2 separate regions of the Homo sapiens genome follow, and region 1 is linked to region 2. The links are contacts of gene promoters, found by promoter capture Hi-C in human tissues and cell types (Jung and others, 2019). All regions are on one chromosome and are shown on one strand. Each heading gives the region's core, a stretch centred on a gene start or on the middle of the fragment in contact. The rest is flanking DNA. Distances are from core to core; before and after follow the strand shown. Region 1 has its middle 44 kb from the start of INO80. Region 2 holds the start of DLL4 (delta like canonical Notch ligand 4).

Region 1 (4,091 bases), core at 1,428-3,927, 230 kb before region 2:
TCTTGCCCTTGCCCTGTACTCCTGCTGCTGTTGGTTTTTAGCTGGATTTGGCTAAAGGAAAGCACTGGTGGAATCTAGGAGGGAAGCGGGAGGACACCAGGATATTGTACCTGCCTCATTCTGCCCTGGGTAGTATTTCCAGCATTGGCTACATCTCCTCTATGGCAGCATTACCAGCCTGACAGGCCTGCCATGGTTTCAGCTTCTACAAGGTCATTCTGGCTCCTAGGCCCTAGTAATACCACTTCTTTGCTTTGTTCCTTCAGCTAAGGTATAGTAGTGTCTTCCCACTGTTGATAATCTCTAGACTGCCTCACCTTCTCATCTCCTCCATCAGCCATGCAATTTATTTCCTGTACTAAATTTCCTGTTTCCAATACTTAGAATGCTTCCTGTTTTCCTGGTTAGAGTCTGACAAATACAGGGGTATACCACATAATTTTTGAGGAAGATATATGTCATAAGAGGACACCTGTAGTGCTTACCACAATCATCTATGATTTCTCCCAGAGACAGGAAATCATGTTGCATGAATTTATGTTGTCTTATCTGTGCCCCGCTGTCCACATAATGCCTGGAGGAATGAGAAAAGCCCTCTTTTCAGAGGTGCATTGTAATTAGAAGTAAAAAACTTACAATAATATTTTGGAACATGGTATAGTAGTGAGTTATAAGTGTAGGAAAGGAAGTGGTGTTTGGAGTGATATCCTATAAATGAGATTAGAAGAAACTTGACAACCAAGAAAGATTTAGATGTCAGAGGATTAGATTTTGGTCAGGCAGATGAATGAAAAGCTAACTGTATGTTGAAAATCTCCCTTCGGTTAGAAAAAATTAGGCCTAGTGATGATGAAATGCAAATACCAGTAATATTGTATGACTCGTTGCTAATGTTTAAAAACAACAGGGAAATCAAAGTATCATCCATCAGTTGTGTTTCTCATTGTATGACATAGATTAAATCTTTCATTTGCTGTTATTTTTGTAAATATCAACGATGTGTCATTGTGATATTCCTACGTCCCCCGCCCCCCTGATTTTGTTGTAGGTGCTGAACAAATAATAGGAATTCAGGAAGAATGAGGAAAGAATACATGAATTTCGGAAAATGTTTCTGGAAATCACCACAGTGCGATTCTAATCTCAAAATTAAATCAAATAAAGAAATAAATATTTAAAAAGAAAAAATGTGTACGCCTCTAAAGGATGAAGGAATTCTGACTAATCAACAGCAGTGATGAATTTAAATAGTTGACCTTGTCAGATTGGTATGAGTGGTTTTCTGGGGGATTTTTGGATTAAGAATTCCAGGAATGAGAGAAGAAGAGAAGTGTTAGATATTCAAAATTGGGCTATCGGTAAAGCATTTTGATCTAGCATCTTGTGAAATCTCAATTACGAAACTAATTTGTAGTGATTTCCAGGTGAGAGTGGTAACTGGAAACTTTCAAGGAAGCCTTAGAGGAACAAGAGAGGAATGCCAGGAAATTTTAAAAACTTTTTTATTGTGAAATATACTTAGAAGTTAACTAAATGAAAATGTACTGTTTACGGAAAAATCCAAAGTGAACATCCAGTTCAAGAAATAAAACATTACGCGGCCAGGCAGGGTGGCTCACGCTTGAATCCCAGCACTTTGGGAGGCTGAGATGGGTGGATCCCGAGGTCAGGAGTTCGAGACCAGCCTGGCGAACATGGGGAAACCCGTCTCCACTAAAAATACAAAAATTAGCCAGCCGTGGTGGCACATGCCTGTAATCCCACGTACTCGGGGGGCTGAGGCAGGAGAATCACTAGAACCGTGGAGGCAGAGGTTGCAGTGAGCTGATTTCGCACCACTGCACTCCAGTCTGAGTGACACAGTGAGACTCCATCTCAAAGAAAAAAAAAAGGAAAGGGGGTGCATTTTACCACCACTTACCACCACTATTGATGTTCCCTTTGTTTAGTTATTGCAAACAGTGTTGCTACGAGGTTTCTTATATATGTATCCTGGTGTAAACATGCATGAATTTCTCCAGGAGTGGATTTGTTACATATGTATATATTTAACTTTGCTGCCTTCTGCCAAACTGTTTACTGATTTACATACCCAACAGCAGTGTATGAGAGTTCCTAATATGCCACATTCTCACTAACATTAGGCGTACTGTTTTTTATTTTATTTTATTTTATCTTATTTTTTGAGATGGAGTCTTGCTCTGTTGCCCAGGCTGGAGTGCAGTGGTGCAATCTCGGCTCACTGCAACCTCCGCCTCCCAGGTTCAAGCGATTCTTCTGCCTCAGCCTCCTGAGTAGCTGGGATTACAGGCATGCGCTACCACGCCCAGCTAATTTTTGTATTTTTAGTAGAGACAGGGTTTCACCATATTGGCCAGGCTAGTCTTGAACTCCTGACCTCAGGTGATCCACCCATCTTGGCCTCTGAAAGTACTATGATTACAGGCGCGAGGCAACACACCCAGCCAGAAGAGAGAAATAACTTAATTTGTATGGGTCAAAATCATTTTTGAGGATACAGTCTAAGTAGAAATAAATTAATAATAAGGAAAATAAACAGAATAGCAAATACAATTACTTTGTAAACAAAATTAAATATTATAAAATAATTTTTTTTTGAGATGGAGCCTCAGCCTTTCAAAGTGCTGAGATTACAGGCGTGAGCCACTGCGCCCAGCCTAAAATTAAAATTTTAAATTTTAATAAAAAAAATTAGCCTGATGTGGTGGCATCCACCTGAAGTCCCACCTCCTAGGGAGGCTAAGGTGGGAGGACTGCTTGAGCTGGGGGGATGGAGGCTGCAATGAGCTATAATTGCACCACTGCACTCCAGCTTGGGCAACAGGGCAAGACTCGGTCTCAAAAAAAAAACAAAAATTATTTTCTGGCCTGACACAATGGCTCATGCCTGTAATCCTAGCACTTTGGGAGACTGAGGTGAGAGGATCGCTTGACCCCAGGAATTTGAGACTGCTGTGAGCCATGATTGTGCCACTGCCCTCCAGCCTGGGCAACAGACCAAGATCTTGTCTCAGAAAGAAAAATTATTTTATTTTTCTTTTCTTTTCTTTTTTTTTTTTTTTGAGACAGAGTGTCACTCTGTTGCACAGGCTAGAGTGCAGTGGCGCGATCTCAGCTCACTGTAACCTCCACCTCCAGGGTTCAAACAATTCTCCTGCCTCAGCCTCCCGAGTAGCTGGGACTACAGGTGCATACCACCACGCCTGGCTAATTTTTGTATTTTTAGTAGAGACGGGGTTTCACCATATTGGTCAGGCTGGCCTTGAACGCCTGACCTCACGCGATCCACCCGCCTCAGCCTCCCAAAGTTCTGGGATTACAGGCGGGAGCCACCACACTCGGCCAGAAAAATTATTGTCTTACTCCACCATTCTAAGGATATTTCCTTTGTTATGTTTTTTGGTTTTGCCATTTATGTTTAAATCTCTAATTTACCTGGGATTGATTTTTTAATAAACTGTGAGGTAGGGATAAATTTAACATATTTCTGTATATGGACACCTAATTGTGTGGCATCATTTATTGAAAAACTGCAGTGCTCCCACCATAAATTATCCAGTGTCAATGCATGATGGGTCTTTGCTGGGTTCTCTGCTCTGTACTATTGGTTATTTATTTATTTTATGCTGATAACACACTGTCTTAATTATTATAGCTATTTTATTTTATTTTTATTTATTTATTTATTTTTGAGACAGAGTCTCACCCTGTCACCCAGGCTGGAGGGCAGTTGTGCGATCTCGGCTCATTGCAACCTCTGCCTCTCAGGTTCAAGCAATTCTCCTGCCTCAGCCTCCTGAATGGCTGGGATTACAGGCCTTGTGCCACCATGCCTGGCTAATTTGTATATTTTTAGTAAAGATAGGGTTTCACCATGTTGGCCAGGCTAGTCTCAAACTCCTGACCTCAGGTAATCTGCTGACCTTGGCCTCCCACAGTGCTGAGATTACAGGCATGAGCCACCGCGCCCGGCCTACTGTAGCTTTATTTTATTTTATTTTTTATTTTTTGAGATGGAGTCACATTCTGTCGCCCAGGCTGGAGTACAGTGGCACAATCTCTGCTCACCA
Region 2 (4,368 bases), core at 967-3,466:
TAGGGAGCCCTGGATGGCGATCTTGCTGATGAGTGCATCTGGTGGCAAGGCCTCTGAGGGGGCAGAGGGTCGGGTCAGGGAAGGGTCGCCAGTCCCCAAGGGTGCCAGTGACGGCTGGCCAATGTCCTTCTTGGCTGTGATGATGGTGATCAGCCAACCAATCAGCCCAGTTATCCAGATGACCCCCGCCTGCCAGCAAGAACAGGCCAGAGGGACCCAAAGCCCCGCTACGTAGCTGCCCTACGTGTGTGCATGTGCAGGGGGCCTGATAGTATTCAAAAAGGGGACAATAGAAGGATGTTAAGATATCCCAGGGTCTTGGAGGCAGATAGGGAGGGGAAAGAGGAAAAGAGGTCAAAATGGAAAAAAGAGAAAAAGAAAGAAAAGCTCCCCAGGCTAGAGAGGACCCTGGGAGCAGGGGGTCCTTTGGTGCCCATTCAGGGGTTCTGCCTCCAGAGGTGGGTAATGGTTTTCTTTTTTCCTTTTCAAAGTGAGAATTGTTGTGCTGCTGAAATATCCTTTTCCTCTGTGTCAGAACAACATCCCAAAGCCATTATTCCCTTTCCAAAGGAGCGGAATTCGCGAAAGGTGTAAAATACAGGAAGGGGCCCGTCAGCGGCGCTGGCAGCTTCAGCCTTTCTCACCGCCGTACTCCCCGCGTTCCCACGCCAAAAATAACCCGCAGGAAACGCAATTGTGCTCTGAGTCCAGGCAGCGAGCGGAATCCGAGCGTCCAGCGCGGGGCGCAGCTCCAGGCCAAGCTAAGCGTCCTGCCTCCCACCCCCAAGCCCGCACTTCCCCCGCCTAGAACAGATTAACTCTTTCGGCGCTGCGCCGTGTCGCCCCCCTGTGGTGGCGGAGCGAGCTACTCACCTGGCCGCAGGTCGTCTCCTGGCGCGTGCCAAGCTTCGATGATGAGCGAGAAGGTACCCTGGGAAAGGGGGTGGGGGGACGGAGAGATGGCGAGATGAGCAAGCGGGGAGAGGTGGGGGTGCCTTGCGGCAGCCTGTTTAATTAATCTAATTGCAGGATTCAGTTACTGCGCCCGGGTCAACATAACGGGGCTGTGCACAGTGTAGCGCTTGAGCAGGGAAGGCGAGAGGAGAACCCCCGGTAGAGGGAGGGTTGAGAGACGGGAGAGTGTAAGGGAGAGCCACTGGAGGAGGGGGTGGTAGGGTACCGCCCCAGAGTGGTAGGTAATGAAAATCGTGTCCCAAGAGCTGGGGACGGGAGGACATAAACTGGGAAGACGGAGACTGGTGAGAGCCTTTTCTGGGATCAGTCTCAGGAGAGAGTCGGGAAGAGCCAGGAAAGAATGCATCCTGGGCTTTTTGGGGGTGGGGGTGTGTGTACAAGGAAATCTGGGGAGGGGGCTTTGGTCCCAGGGCGCCTCCTCTCTCGGCTTCTGCGACCTCCCAGTGCGCCCAGGCTGTGCTCACCGGCCAGGTGAAATTGAAGGGCAGTTGGAGAGGGTTGCGCCCCCCGCCGCTACTGTCGTCCCGGACAGCGAAGGAGTTGGTGCCCAATACCGGCGTGGAGACGGTCCCGAAGGTGCAGGGTCCGGGCGAGACGACCGCCTGGAAGTGCTTAAGGCAGACGCGGAAGAAAGTCCGGCAGCCGGGCTCGCAAGGCCGCCCACTGGCCAGTACGCCGCGCTCGTTGATGAACTCCTGCAGCTGCAGCTGGAAGACGCCGGAGCCGGCCGCGCGCTATTGCACAGGGACCGAGGGAAGGAGGGAGGGGACCGGTCAGCTCAGCTGGTGCCCGGGGCTGAGGCCCAGAGCGCGGCAGAGGGGACGGAGAGGGCGCGGGACGTGTTACCTGCTGCCAAAGTGCCACCAGCAGCAGTAGCGCCCAGCCAGAGGCGCTCCGGGACGCTGCCGCCATCCCCTCGGGCGTCGCTCTCTCCACCCGCGGGCCCTCAATCTGGCTCTGTTCGCGACGCCGCTTTCCCGCGCGTCCGCCAGCCGGCGGGGTCCCTGAAAAGAGGCGCTCCTCTCGGGACGCTGCTCCCCTTTGGCCTTCTCGCTGGCTCCGCTGCAGCTGCCGCTGTAGGTAATCCAGGTGACTACGGCTGGGCGGCGACCGCGCCGAGGACGCGTCTTCTGTCTAATCCTGGGGCTGCAAGCGGGCTAGTGCCGGTGTACGCTGCACCAAGGCGGCTGGGGCTGCGGCTCTTGGCCTCGTGTTCCCGGCCTGCGCGCAGCGCCGCTACTGAAACCTGCGCGCTGGGGGCCTTCCTTATATATATTGGCTCCTCTCCTCGCCGCCTGTCACTCAGACTCATGGTCATTCTCCCCTCCCCTCCCGGCCTCTAGCTGCTACAGTCCCAGCGCCGCCCGGAGGGGGCCTCCGCCCCCGCCGCTCCCCCCTCCCCGTCAGCCAGTCGGGCGCAGGTCCCCGCCCCTCCGTGCCGCTCCCAACCTCTAGGTCCCCCAGCTCTGCGCGTGCCGAGGTGACCAGTCCTCCGTGATGGCGGGGTTAAGGGCTGAGACCCTGGCCGCCGGAGGATAGAGGGGTTGCCCGGTAATGGGGCAGGAGGTGAGTGGGTGGTTCGGGGATGGTCTTGGGGGCGGAGACACTAGGCAGTCCCTGTAGGCTGTGCATCCGCAGCAGGCGCTAGTTACCTAGTGTTCCAAAGCAGGTAAAAAGAACTTAAGCCCGGAATGCAAAAACCAGCGCTAGGGAAATCCGATCTCCTTTTCCTTCCTGGAGCTTCTGGAGCCCTTGTCTCAACGGCCCCCAACCTATGAGTGCCCACCCACCACGCGTCCCCAGCGCAGCAGGGAAGCCAGCAGAAGCGTTAACCTCTCTGTGGCCACTCTGAGCAAGGCTAGGGGCTAAGGGTCTAAGGCTCGGGGCCCTCTCTGTGCACCTGTTGGGCGTCTCCCTCTCTAGCTAAGGGGGGGCGTGCCCAGCGCGTGCCTTCTCCCTTCTGCCCCCTGCCAGGGCTTGGCGCGTGCCAGAGACCCAGACGCGCGGTCCCTGAGGTGGGGGAGGGCGGGGCGTGGTCCCGGAGGTAGGAGGGGGGCGCGTCCTCAGCTGTATGGTAATGAGGTTCTGGCCCCGCCTCCAGCGCGTCCCCTCACCTGAGTCCAGCTTCAGTTCCTGCGCCCACTGCCTCCCCCCACCCCAGCAGCCCCAAGCCCCCGGCCGCGCCCTGTCGCTCAGCTGGGGCAAGGAGGAACTCTCCTGACGCCAGAGTTGGCTCAGGCCACTGGAGAATCAAGGTGAGGGACTGAGGCCGGGTCGGCCCGGGTCCTCGCCTCATAAGGCGGGATGTGGGGTGGAACTGGAGGCTTGCGGAGCTGTTTGAGTTTCAGGCGGCTTCCCAAGTCTCGCCCGAGAGGGTCCCCTGGGTGGCCCCACTCCTCCAAGCGGCAGCAGCGCAGCTGCTTTCTCGGAACCCGGCGTGATCCCCGGAGACCGCAGACCGGGGAGGGCCGGCTTCTCCCAGTCTCAGGGGTGCCGGGGAGCTCTCTCTTTGCGACGCCGAGGGCAGCGGGGGCCCTGTGGCTTCAGCTGTCAGCCCGCCCGCGAGGTGATGGCTGTAGTCGGGCGGTAAGATCAGCGCGGGGGGGGAGCCGGGACGCGGCGCGAACCCGGGGGAGGCGGTAAGGGTGGGGGAGCGGCGAGAAGCCCAACAGCTGCCAATGCCGAGCATGGTCTGATTTTTTTTTTTGAGTTGGGTGGTGGTGGTGGAGGACTGGGGGACGGGTGTGGTGGGGGGGGGAAGGATGAGAAACAAGAGGTTGGGAGCGTGGGTTGGGGGAGGGGCGAGGTGAGGAGACGGGCTCCGGGGTCCCCCACGCACGGCCACCCCTCCCAGCCACCATCTGGCGCGAGCGGGTTGGCGTGGGGAACCGAGGTGGGGCGGGGCGGCAGATGGGCCCAGGCTGCGCTCGGGAGTTAATGTAGGTTATGGGCAGGCGGAGTCCCAGGCCCGAGGGAGGGGGAGTCCGGGGCGTGCCTCCCGGCGATCCTGGCAAGTGGGCTCCCAGATCTTCTCTCCGCCTATACCCTATGGATCCCTGGACTTGCCTCTCTAAGATGCCAGCGGGTGCCCCTTGCTCCCCTCCAAGCTGGCATCCAGCCCTACCTAGCCCTGTCCTCTCTCAACTCCAAATCCTGGCCCAGGAGTTAATAAAAACATCCTCCTTTTCTGGCGCTGGTCCTGCTTACCTGACCCTCAAGGGAGACATCTAGTCCCACACAAGGCATCTCTCCCAATACTGGAAAATCTGGAACACTCTCTACCCTCATACACGCCCAGACTAATGTGCCCAAATGTACTTTGCAAATTATCAAGGACCAAACAAAAGTTGGGATTATTATCTTCAGAGAGGCAGCACCCAGGAGATCCCAGAG

The links. Contacts are between HindIII fragments. The study calls those that stand out against the background at their distance.
Region 1: a fragment that was not itself captured here is called in contact with the fragment with the promoter of DLL4 in region 2 in 1 of the 25 tissues and cell types used here (spleen).

What each region holds. Positions count from the first base shown.
Region 1 is chr15:41,158,363-41,162,453 of GRCh38, reverse strand. No RefSeq gene overlaps it. Among named protein-coding and RNA genes, the nearest start is that of INO80, 44 kb to the right of the region's middle. The HindIII fragment of the contact is 8,306 bases long and covers 1-4,091 here.
Region 2 is chr15:40,927,188-40,931,555 of GRCh38, reverse strand. DLL4 (delta like canonical Notch ligand 4) reads right to left here and starts at 2,216. Exons shown (of 11, transcript NM_019074.4): 1 at 1,822-2,216; 2 at 1,440-1,709; 3 at 874-931; 4 at 1-53. The coding sequence starts at 1,887. RefSeq lists silencers at 2,322-2,411, 3,005-3,074. The HindIII fragment of the contact is 17,329 bases long and covers 1-4,368 here.